Regions from separate parts of the Homo sapiens genome. Here region 2 is linked to region 1. The links are contacts of gene promoters, found by promoter capture Hi-C in blood cells and fetal thymus (Javierre and others, 2016). All regions are on one chromosome and are shown on one strand. Each heading gives the region's core, a stretch centred on a gene start or on the middle of the fragment in contact. The rest is flanking DNA. Distances are from core to core; before and after follow the strand shown. Region 1 holds the start of FAF2 (Fas associated factor family member 2). Region 2 overlaps GPRIN1 (G protein regulated inducer of neurite outgrowth 1).

Region 1 (5,670 bases), core at 232-2,731:
AGCCACAGAGCCCGGCCGACACCATTTTTAAACGGAAAGATTTCATATGCAGATCCAAATTTGCAGGGTTTTTGTTTTGTTTTGTTTTGTTTTTCCAATTAGCACTTTTTGGGGGTTGTGTTTTAGGGCGTACCATGTGCTGTTTTTCCAGGACGTCGTGGTTTGTGCAGACCTGGTAAGACCTGATAAGTCCTGAAAGAAGTAGCCAAAATTTCATGTACTCTTCACAGAACCAGCTCTCAAAGCCTTTTCTGTCTCACCGGATCAACCCTGCAAGGGGACGAGGGTGGGGCGCAGGCGGCCGAGAGCCTTGCTGAGAATCACACAGGTGGTCAGTGGAAAAGCGTGTACCAGACCCAGGCCTCTCTGGAAGGTGGGCAGAGGAGGCGTTCGGCGGGAGAGGTGGAAATGAAAACGGGAAATCTAAAGAGAGGTGGCGGACTAGAAGGGGCAAGGGACGTGCAGAGGAAGATAGAGATTGAGGGGTGGTGATAGGGTAGTGTAAGCAGCAGAAGGGAAGGGCAGGGGACTGCCTCGAGGAGAAGGGGCGGCGGCAGCACGTCAGGGGCTTTTGGGGAATCTCATTCAACAAATGGCAAAATGGAGCCCAAGTGGTTTGCCCAAGGATGTCCAGCAGTTGGCAAGGTGGCAACTAGAACCCGCGTCTCCTAATCCCGGTCCAGGGATCTTTCTTCGCCTGTCACAGAGACAAGGGGCCAGTGCAGCGCTAGTGCGGAGAGACAAGGCTCCAGGCACGGAAAAGCAGATGCCGGGCCGGGGTTCCAGCGCCGCAGTCACGGCGGTGGACGGCAAGCTGTGCGGACGACTGGGGGCGCCATGAATGGTCGAGGATCCGGGGAGCCGAGTCCAGATCTTCCTGCAAGTGACCCCGAAGCGGCAATGGAACGGTGGCCGAAGTCTGCCCACAGCTTCCGCTTCGAAGGCGGCGTCGGAAATGCCGCGCCAGTATCCAGAGCCCTTCGGAACCTCCCGAGAGATGGTCAGGAGCTTTTGGAAACTTTAGGTCAGGGGCCAGCGACCAAAAGGCTGGTATTTCGGAACGGCTGCGTCTCCCGAGAAACCTCCAAGAGTATCTGAGGTTGCCGGAAAATGGTTAGAGAGCAGCCGAAATCAGCCGAATGCCATTCGGGATGCTCCGGAGCTTCTCGAGGCACATTCGGGCCCTCTCGGCTCTGCAAGACTGCACTGGAATCTTAGGTCTCCTTTCGTCGCCTAATCTTAGCAGATCCTTTCGTCGCCTAAATGGTAAGAGCGACTTGTACCGACAGTCCCTCGGCAATTTCCGGAAGTGTTCGGGATAGGCCCGAGCGTGGCGCCCTCTGGCGGCGGCCAGAGGTGGCGGGGGGCGGGGGGAGGTTAGTGGGCCAGCGCGCGCAGACGCAGTTGCGCGCCGGCGGCCGTTCAGACCGGATGTGGTTGTGGCTGAGGTCAGTTCCGGCGGGTGACGGTGCGGACGGGTCAGGAGCGTAGAGGCGGCGGCAAAATGGCGGCGCCTGAGGAGCGGGATCTAACCCAGGAGCAGACAGAGAAGCTGCTGCAGTTTCAGGTAGCAGCGAGTACTCGGTGCAGCAGATGCCTCCGTGGGATGGGGAGTAGGCCCCTAGAGGAGTTCAGAACCCTCCTCAGATTGGGTTCAGATCCTTCTCAGACCAGCAGGCCGGCCCCCTCCCCCCCAGACTCCAACTGCCCTGATTCCCCCGGCCCCCAAGCCTCTGTTGGACCCTAGCCTTCCAGCCATCGCTGCGGGCAGACCCGCCTCGTCTGTGCCTCTGTGCCCTCAGCGTGTCAGCTTCCCTGGTTTGCCTTAGCGGCGTCAGTCCTCAGCCATCCTTCCCAGCCCGGTTATCGGTCGGACCCTCTCCGCCCAACGAGTCTATATCTGCCGGAGAAGCTTAGTCCCCACCGCGGAGTTGGCGTCATTTCGGGTCTCTGACAGGAAAACCTCCTGCCAGCATCCCATGCCATTTCCACATACACTCCCACAAACTGGGGCCTCTTGGATACCAGGTTTCGTGTTGGGGGTTCCGGTCGGGGAGGGGGCACCTACACACAGATCTGGTCCCCGCCCTAGAGGTGTGGGAGGACACCAAGTGAGGAAACAATGCAAGATGATAAGTGTCATCAGTGGTCTGTCGGGATTTATTACTTTTGGCTTATTCCTGGATTCCTGTGCTTAACTATGCTTGAGGAGGGTGGTAACTTGCAGAAATGTTATGTTAATACAAGATGTTGTATTAAGAACATTTGCCACTGATCACTTACCCCTGAGCTGGAGAATGGTTGGAGGATACCACTAGGGTGGGTAACCTTGGCACTTTGTTACCAGTTTCCTTATCTCTGAAAGGACTGTCTTAAAAATGTCTACCCCCAGGCCAGGAGCGGTGGCTCACGCCTGTAATCCCAGCACTTTGGGAGGCCAAGGCCAGCGAATCACGAGGTCAGGAGTTCGAGACCACTCTGGCCAATATGGTGAAACCCCGTCTCTACTAAAAATACAAATATTAGCCGGGCGTGGTGGTGCACGCCTGTGGTCCCAGCTACTCGGGAGGCTAAGGCAGGAGACTCGCTTGAACCCGGGAGGCGGAGGTTGCAGTGAGCCGAGATCGTGCCACTGCACTCCAGCCTGGGCAACAAGAGTGAAACTCCGTCTCAAAAAAAAAAAAATCTACCTCCTGAGGATGTTCGGGAGATCAAATGGACATATGGATGTTAGAAGGGCCTTGTAGACTGCAAAATGCCCCCAAATAGTATTTTCTGCTATTAATTTGACTTAGGATAGACCTAAAGTTATTGATACACTTATTTCCTTATATAAAATGTGTAAATATTCATTTATTCAACTATATGAAGAACCTTAGTGCGCAGCGCTGCTAGGTAGAATCCCACTTACTATTTCAGATGTAAGTACTTTGTAAACACTTAGCATACATAACCTCATTTAATACAGCAACCCTATGAGGTTCATACTGTTCTAGTCCCTGATTTACAGATGAAGGGTATCAGGACTAAGAAATAAAATGCTTAGGTTACACAGCTAGAAAATGATGGTGTCAGATTTAAAGCTATGTCCATCTTCCAGAACCCTTCCCAGGCTTCTGACTTCTGTCTTGTGCAACTTATATTTCAGTGTACAGTTGAGTGTGGAATGCAAATGCTGAGAAAATAAATATTTTTTTGGCGAGTTCTCACTTTTTTGCAATTTCCTTGAATAGACTTCACTATAATAAATTTTGAAGTGGTTATTTTTTCCCCTCTTAAATTGAGCAGTGTGTTGGAAGTGTATAAATGGAAAAATGCTGTCATAGATGTAATTGACATTTGATTGGAATTTTTGGTAGAGAAATTGAATTGATGACCCAGCAAATTATTATTAGAGAATGAGTTAAACAGACAACCAGCTTACACTTCCAGGTAGACCACCAATTTCAGAGTGTTGTTTAACTTTGGCAGACCATTTTACCCCTTAGAACTCTTCAGGGGTAAGCTAACATGTGGTTTAAGTGCAATGAAGTAATGTGAGTTATAAATTATGGTATATTTAGTCTCATACTGGAAGAGCATGAATATAAATCTATGATAGCATTTCTGAAGTAAAGTGCATAGGAACCTCCATTTTATCTTCTGTGGAGATCTTTTTTTTTTTTTTGAGACGGAGTTTCGCTCTTGTTGCCCAGGCTGGAGTGCAGTGGCGCGATCTCGGCTCACTGCAACCTCCGCCTTCCAGTTTCAAGCGATTCTCCTGCCTCAGCCTCTCGAGTAGCTGGGACTACAGGCACGCGCCACCACATCCAGCGAATTTTTTGTATTTTTAGTAGAGACGGGGTTTCACGATGTTGGCCAGGATGGTCTCGATTTCTTGACCTCGTGATCCGCCCTCCTCGGCTGGGATTACAGGCGTGAGCCGCCGCGCCCGGCCAAAACTGTGGAGATCTTTATTAGAAGAGAGGTGGGTAGCAGGTTCGAGCTGTATTAAGATTGCCTTATGAAATTGGATTTATTGAGGGAAATGCATCTTTCATTTTTCTATTCTATAAGCAATCGCTGGATCAGATTCATTATCCAGACTGCCATTAAACAAACAGTTGTTGAAACTTATTAGATGCCAAGCATTATACCAAGCAGCAGTTGATGTACATTAACTCTTTTTTTAAGAAAAATATTTTAGACCATGTGTGGTGGCTCATGCTTGTAATCCCAGCACTTTGGGAGGCCGAGGCAGGTGGATCACCTGAGATCAGGAGTTCGAGACCAGCCTGGCCAACATGGCAAAACCTCGTCTCTACTAAAAATACAAAAATTAGCCAGGCATGGTGGCATGTGCCTGTAATCCCAGCTACTAGGGGGGCTGAGGCAGGAGGCTCACTTGAACCCGGGAGGTGGAGGTTGCAGTGAGCCAAGATCGTGCCACTGCACTCCAGCCTGGGCAACAGAGCGGGACTCTGTCTCAAAAAAAAAATTTTTTTTTAAGTAGAGACGGGAGTCTTGCTATGTTGTCCAGGCTGCTCTCAAACTGCTGCCTCAGAGGTTGAGATTACAGTGTTGAGATGAGTTGCCTCAGTGTTGAGATTACAGATGTGAGCCACCACACCTGGCCCCTTAACTCTTTTAAACCTTTTAATATAACAGTGTAAAGGGTTAATCTTGTTCATTTTAATAATGAAGAAACAGGTTCTGAGAGGTCAAATAGCTTTCACAAGTAGTAAGTGGTAGAGATTTAGAAATTTATATCCACAACCATCTTCTGTGTAACTTAATGGAGAAGTCAAGTACACACATGAATAATGGGTATGCGATATATATAGATATATATATATGTGTATATATGTATATTGTATATATACATATATATACGTGTGTGTGTGTATATATATATACATATATATATACACACATATATATATATACATATATATATATACACACATATATATACACATATATATATACACACATATATATATATATATATTTTTTTTTTTTTTTTTTTTTTTTTTTTTGAGACAACATATCTCTGTTGCCCAGGCTGAAGTGCAGTGGCGTGATCATAGTTCATTGCAACCTCAAACTCCTGGGCTCAAGTGATCCTCCCACCTCAGCCTCCTAAGTGGCTAGGACTAGAAGTGCCTGGCTAATTTTTGTCTGTTTGTTTTTGAGACGGAGGCTTGCTCTGTTGCCCTGGCTGGGGTGCAGTGGTGCGATCTCGGCTCACTGCAGCCTCTGCCTCCCAGGTTTAAGCTATTCTCTTGCCTCAGCCTCCTGAGTAGCTGGGATTACAAGTGCCTGCCACCATGCCTGGCTAATTTTTGTATTTTTAGTACAGACAAGGTTTCCCCGTGTTGGCCAGGCTGGTCTCGAACTCCTGACCTCAGGTGATCCACCTGCCTCGGCCTCCCAAAGTGCTCGGATTACAGGCGTGAGCCACCGGACCTGGCCAGCAGGTAACATTTATTAAGTATCTACTATGCCTTAGGCATGGTGTTAATGTATAACTATTATGTTTAATCCTTACAGCAGTTTACAAAGTACCATAGGTGGTATGCATAATGAAGCAGATCTATTGATGTATTTACTCAAGGTGATTAAGCTACTAGGTAGTGGAATTCTAGTGGGTCTAGATCTGGACTTGATGGCTGAGTTCTTACTAATATA
Region 2 (6,177 bases), core at 4-2,503, 150 kb after region 1:
CTTCTGGAGGACACCGGGTCCTCTTTTCCTGGGGATACAGTTCCTGCCTTTCCCACAGACACACGCTCTGCCTGTCCAGGAGACAAGAGCTCTGGCTTTCCTGAGCACATGGGGTCCATCTTTCCCAGAGAAACTGGATCCACCTTGCCTGAAGACATGGGATCCACATTTTTCAAAGATGTGAGATCTGTCTTTGCTGAAGCCGTAGTATCCGTGTGGCCAGACACAGGACGCCCCTCTCCTGAGGAGGCAGGGTCCATCTTTCCCAGGAACCGGGAGTCCTCTTTTGTGGCAGGCACAGTTTCTACATTTCCCACAGATGCGGGATCTGCCATCCCCAAGCATGTGGGATCCAGCCTTCCCAAGGACCCAGGAGCCCCGGTCCCAGAGGATACAGGCCCATTCTTGCCTGATGAGCCTGGAATCAGCTTGCCCAGGAGCCCCGGCTCTGTCTTTCCTGTGGACGCAGAATCCATGCTTTCCAAGGGCATGGGATCTGCCTTTCCCGAGGGCCCAGGATCTCTCTTTCCCGACAATACAAGATCTACCTTTTCTGCAGATGTAGGAGCGACCTTTTCTGAGGACACAGGATGCTCTTTTCCTGAATACCTGGGCTCCTCCTTTCTTGGGAATACAGGGTCCACTTTGTCTGAGGACACAGGATCCACCTTTCTCAAAGACCCAGGATCCTCCTTCCTCGGTGACACTGTATACGTCTTGCTGGAGCACAAAGGATCTACTTTTCCCAGGGATCCAAGATCTTCCTTTCTTACAGTCATGGGATCCATCCTTCCAGGAGCCACAGGATCCCCCTTTCCCAAGATTTCAGGCTCTGCCTTTCCTGTAAACATGGGATCTGCCTTCCGTGAGGACCCAGGATCCTCCTTTCCTATGGAAGTGGAATCGGCCTGCTTTGAGGACTTGAAATCCATCTTCTCTAAGAACATGGGATTTCTGTCATCTGAGGATTTGGGCTCAGTTTTCACGGAGGACACAGGCTCTGGCTTCCCAGACGTGGTGGCTTCTGGTGTCCCTGAGATGGAGGCTCCATGTGCCTCCAATGTCTCCTTGGAGGGTGACTCCTGGGGAGAGAAGCAGGTTGGGGAGGGGCAGGCCAGGCTCCCTCTGGGGCCGTCAGAGCAGGAGGCCCCTTCCCCAGCCCCACTGGGGCTTCTGTGTCTAGACTCCATGCCTGGGCTTTGGTCAGGGGTGTGCCTGGGGGGTGCAGGGCTTGCCTTTTGCTGGGAGGGGCAGTAATCCCTCATAGCCGAGCTGCCAGCCCCCAGGCTCCCATCCTGTGGGCAGAAGAAGGCTGTGGGTCGGGGTCCTGGGGGGCTGGAATCCTTTTGAAGCAGCTGGAGCCAGGCCGGGTCTTCAGCAGTGTCCATCTGCCCTCATGACCACGCCTGCACCCAAGGCTGCTGTCTGGTTCTGAAACAGAGAGAGAGCTGACTCAGACTTCCCAAAGCTCAGTGGGGGAGGAGACTCTGCCTTCTCCCCTTCCTCACTGAGTGCTGTGTCCCATCTGGTCCCCACCTGTCCAGAGGACCTAGACTAAAAACACAAACCCAAGCATGTCACTCCCCTGCTTCACTGCTCCCAGTGGCCCTCTGTATAAAGACGTCTTACAAGGCATTCAACGCCCTTCACAACTTGGCCACAGCCTAACTTTCTTTTTCTTTTTCTTTTTTGAGACAGAGTTTCGCTCTTGTTGCCCAGGCTGGAGTGCAATGGCGCGATCTCAGCTCACCGCAACCGCAACCTCCGCCTCCTGGGTTCAAGCGATTCTCCTGCCTCAGCATCCCAAGTAGCTGGGACTACAGGCATGCGCCACCACGCCCAGCTAATTTTGTATTTTGTTGGTCAGGCTGGTTTCGAACTCCCGACCTCAGGTGATCCGCCCACCTCAGCCTCCCAAAGGCTGAGATTACAGGCGTGAGCCACTGCGCCCCACCCACAGCCTAACTTTTCAACTTTGCCTACTATCGCCCCTCTCTGTTCAACCCCACCCCATGCAACACACTATCCAGAAGTTATGCTTTTGTCCTCTAGGCCAGGGGCTGCAAGCTCTGATGTCCGGGGGTCAAGTAGGTAATTTAAGTGAGGGAAGTGGGTTAGGTATAAGACAAAAGGGAGTGGTGGGGACTATGGCAAATTAGAGAGCACATGCTCTGTCTAAAGGGATGGCCGGGTGCGGCGGCTCACGCCTGTAATCCCAGCACTTTGGGAGGCTGAGGCTGACGGATCACTAGAGGTCAGGAGTTCAAGACCCCCCTGGCCAACATGGTGTAACCCCCTCTCTACTAAATATACAAAAAAATTAGCCAGGTGTGGTGGTGCACGCCTGTAATCCCAGCTACTCAGGAGGCCGAGGCAGGAGAATTGCTTGAACCTGAGAGGCAGAGGTTGCAGTGAGCCAAGATCGTGCCACTGCACTCCAGCCTGGGCAACAGAGCAAGACTCCATCTCAAAAATAAACAAAAACAAAAATTAATAAAAATAATAAAGGGAGAACCACTACTCCCATCAGCCAAGTGCTATCCTGGAGAAATGCAACCTGGTGGTCCCAGTTCTTCCAGTTGCTTAAGTGGGAAATCCAGACTTTAATGTAAAATATGCTAATTAATTAAAGGTTTAAAAAAAAAAAACCCAAACATTATGTGGGCCAAACAAGACTTGCCTGTAGGCCACCAGTTTATGTCTATGTAGGCCCTGGAGAGCTGTGAATGGTTTATAGTCAAGGAAGGGACATAGTCAGATGTGTGTGTTTTCAAAGATTCCTCTGGGATGGTATGGAGGCTGGGCTGAAGGAGCACAGGGGTTGGCCAAGACCTGTGAGGAAGCTGGTAAATCATTCATTTAATCTTTCATCCATTTAATCCTTCATTCATTCACCTAGCCCCTTCTCTGCAACAGGCCCTGAGCAGTTGCAGGAATCTCGATGAGAGACAGCACAGCAGAGGTCCTGGAGATGGTAGTTAAAGGCAGAATTGAGAAATCCAAAGGAAAACTGACAGGTACCAACAGGCTGTACTGGTAATGGCAGGGGCGGTCTGCAGGGTACTGGCTAGGGTGAGGGCTGCTGGGTGATGGTGCTGAGCAGGAGATGTAGGAAAGAGGGAGATCCGTTTTTGGACAAGCTGAGTTTGTAGTGCCTGGGGGATATCCAAGAAGAGGGTCCAGCAGGCAGCTGGGCCTACAAGCAACCCCGTTCCGTTACACACTCAGTAGCCAAAGCAAATAGAGCTCCTGATCCCCTCAAACCTGCTCCAAAACCATGGCTTTAATGCTCAGGCCCAAATCCCTAATCACCCTTGACTTTCACACCCCACGTCTATCAGCAAAACATAATGGAGTTACCATCAGAATATATCCAGCATCTGGCTACTGCCATCTGGACCCCCCACCATCTCTCACCTGGATTATCCCTGCCTTTTCCTTTGTCCCATAGCTTATTCTCAACACAGCAGCCAGAGGGATCTTAGTAAAACCCGAGACAAATCATGTACCCCTCTGCTCGGAACCAGGCAGTGTCTCCCCATCCCATGCAAAGTAAAAGTAAACTCCTTAGAATGGCTCAGAAGCCCCTGCATCTTCAGGCCCCGTCACCTCCTCTGCCCTTTCTGCTGCTGCTCTCCCTCTCCCTCACGCTGCTTCAGCCACGCGGGGTGCCTCGCTGTGCGCCTTGCTGTGCCTTGAACACGCCTGCCTCCATGCCTTGGCGCTGCCTGCTTCTTCTGCATGGAGAGATTTCTCTCCAAATATCTGCATGGTCGGCTCCCCAAGGCTTTCCCTGACCCATGCAATGTAAAACAGCCTCCTCCCCAGCTCTGGCTGGCATTCTCCACCCTCTTATTCTAATCAGTTTTCCTCCATAGTACCTGTCACCATCTGACATATCACATATATTCGCTTATTGCTTGTGGTGTGTTGCTCTCATTAAAATGCCAGCTCCAGGAGGTGGGGACTTTGCTGTGCTATCTGATATATCCCAGAGTTGAGACCTGGCACACATGCAGTAAGCAAGGAAGATCCTCATACGGATTTGTTCCATGAATGACTGAATGACCTAAGATGCAGAGCCACCTGTGCCCTCCTTGGCTCAAAACCCTCCTCATTCTTGCCGGAAATGTAAATTAGTTGTAATCTTTTTAGAAGGACATTTATCAATTTCTATCAAAGTTTACAACGCGCATAGCATTTGAGCCACCAAGCCCACCTCTAAGCATGGTCCTAAAGATAGACCTGGGGTCCTGAAGATGGTCCTGGGGTACACAAGGGCATGGCTAGTGATGAGAACAAGACGGGGAGGCAGGTTCTGTGAACTGTGGGACAACCACGCAGAGCACCGGGCAGCTACTAGAAGGTGTGGGGTAATGAGGGAAAGCACCCAAGATAAATTAATTGAAAAAGGCCAGGGGACAGCATCGCTACTGGGATCCCACGCGTGTAGCCAAGGAAAAGGACACACATGGATGGGTTTATTTATAAAGAGAATTTCTGGATGGAATCCTATAAAACTTTTAGCAGTGACTGCCTCTCAGAAGGAAGAGCGGGGATCTGAGGGTGGGAGAAGCTTTTCTTTGTGCGCCCCTTTGTGATGTTTAAATTGTGGTTATGTGCGCACATAGTCCTTTTTTTTTCCAATGGACAATAAAGAGAAACCTTTAATGACTCACTCTTACCTTTGGGGTAAAGTCCAGCTCTTTAATATGCTCCTAAGCCCCTATGTTTCTACTTAAGTGCTGGGATTTATCTTTCATTACCCACTCCCACCCCCAAAACATGTACACACACAGATACACACTCTCTCTCTCCCCCACCATCTCAGCCTCTACACACCCTCTTCTGGAGGAATCTCTCCCTCCCTTCTTGCCTGGCTGTCTCTTATTACACCTTCAGATCTCCGTTAAAACACCTCCTCCTCTAGTGGGCCTTGTTTGGCTACCAGCTTCCTGGGGATTCCTGTAGCCTCTCGTTCCTCCTCTAACAAGGCTCATGTCACTCTGCATCTGGCCATTTACACCTCTGGGTCCCTGGCCAGACCTCAGGTCTCTGGATGGGGACACAGTCGATACTGTTCACTACTGGGTCCCTCAGGCTCTGGCTTATGAGGTGGGGGAGGGGGACCATCACTAAGAGGGAACACAGGAAGAGGAACAGTTTTGCAGAGGATCATGGGGCACTGGGTTTCGGAAGTGGAACTGGAGTGCCCATGGGACTTATGGGGGGTGACATCCAGGAGGCAGTAGGAAGCAGGCCAGAAGCACGGGAGAGGTCTGGTTGGAATTCGTGGGATCACTGGATGGTCACCAGCCTGCAGGGGTCAGGCAGGCATCAGATTTGAGTGGCGTGAATTGAGTCCATCTTCATCTTTGGCCTTTTGATAGTGATATGGGCACAAATATTTGTTTTCTCCTACAAGGGAGATGATGAAAGACTCCTGACATCCCCAGACTGAGGGAGACAAGAGGGAGTGGTGGGGACTGTGGCAAACTAGAGGGCACTGGCCCCTTCTAAAGGGGCAACGGCACTCAATTCCTGCCAGCTGTGGCCAATTAGGAATCATTCCATTAACTCAGCATTTACTGAGCACACAGGCAATGTTCTAGGCATTATTCTTGGGACTGGGGATACAGCAGTGAATAAGAAATGTGGGGTCCCTGCCTTATAGATGCAGAAAGATTGGGAGGAGAGAAATAAACAAGTGGCAAATAAATCATAGTATTTCAAATAATGGATGCTGTGAAGACAAAGGAGTGGGCAGCTGGTTTAGACATGTGGTCAAGAAAGGCCCCTCTGAGGCAGTTACCATCTGAGCCAGCCATGAAGAGCTGGAGTGGAGTCGGAAAGGGGGTGGCAGCGGAAGAGGAGGCAGCAAATCACATGAGGCATGGTGGAGGAGGGGGGTTTAGCCTAAGGGCACTGGAAACCCTGGAAGTATTTTCTTTTTATTTGAGACAATGTCTCACTCTGTTGCCCAGGCTGGAGTGCAGTGGCGCGATCTCGGCTCACTGCAGCCTTGACCTCCTGGGCTCAAGTGATCCTCCCACCCCAGCCTCTCAATGTAATAGGATTATACCTTGATCTCTTGAGGCCAAGAGTTCCAGACCAGCATGGGCAACATAGCAGGATCTCGTGTCTACAATAGGATTATACCTAGCGCCTAGTGAGCCA

Evidence for each region. Contacts are between HindIII fragments. The CHiCAGO score rates a contact against its expected background, and 5 or more counts as called.
Region 2: a fragment that was not itself captured here is called in contact with the fragment with the promoter of FAF2 in region 1 in 1 of 17 cell types (naive CD4 T cells); the score reaches 5.9 in naive CD4 T cells.

What each region holds. Positions count from the first base shown.
Region 1 is chr5:176,446,904-176,452,573 of GRCh38, forward strand. FAF2 (Fas associated factor family member 2) reads left to right here and starts at 1,482. Exons shown (of 11, transcript NM_014613.3): 1 at 1,482-1,567. The coding sequence starts at 1,505. LOC124901142 (a long non-coding RNA gene) reads left to right here and starts at 5,412. Exons shown (of 2, transcript XR_007059070.1): 1 at 5,412-5,670. RefSeq lists enhancers at 863-1,052, 1,133-1,192, 1,503-1,562 and a silencer at 1,373-1,422. The HindIII fragment of the contact is 11,476 bases long and covers 1-1,910 here.
Region 2 is chr5:176,598,447-176,604,623 of GRCh38, forward strand. It overlaps GPRIN1 (G protein regulated inducer of neurite outgrowth 1), which reads right to left. Exons shown (of 2, transcript NM_052899.3): 2 at 1-1,431. The coding sequence starts at 1,388. Among named protein-coding and RNA genes, the nearest start is that of GPRIN1, 8.6 kb to the right of the region's middle. The HindIII fragment of the contact is 6,641 bases long and covers 1-4,574 here.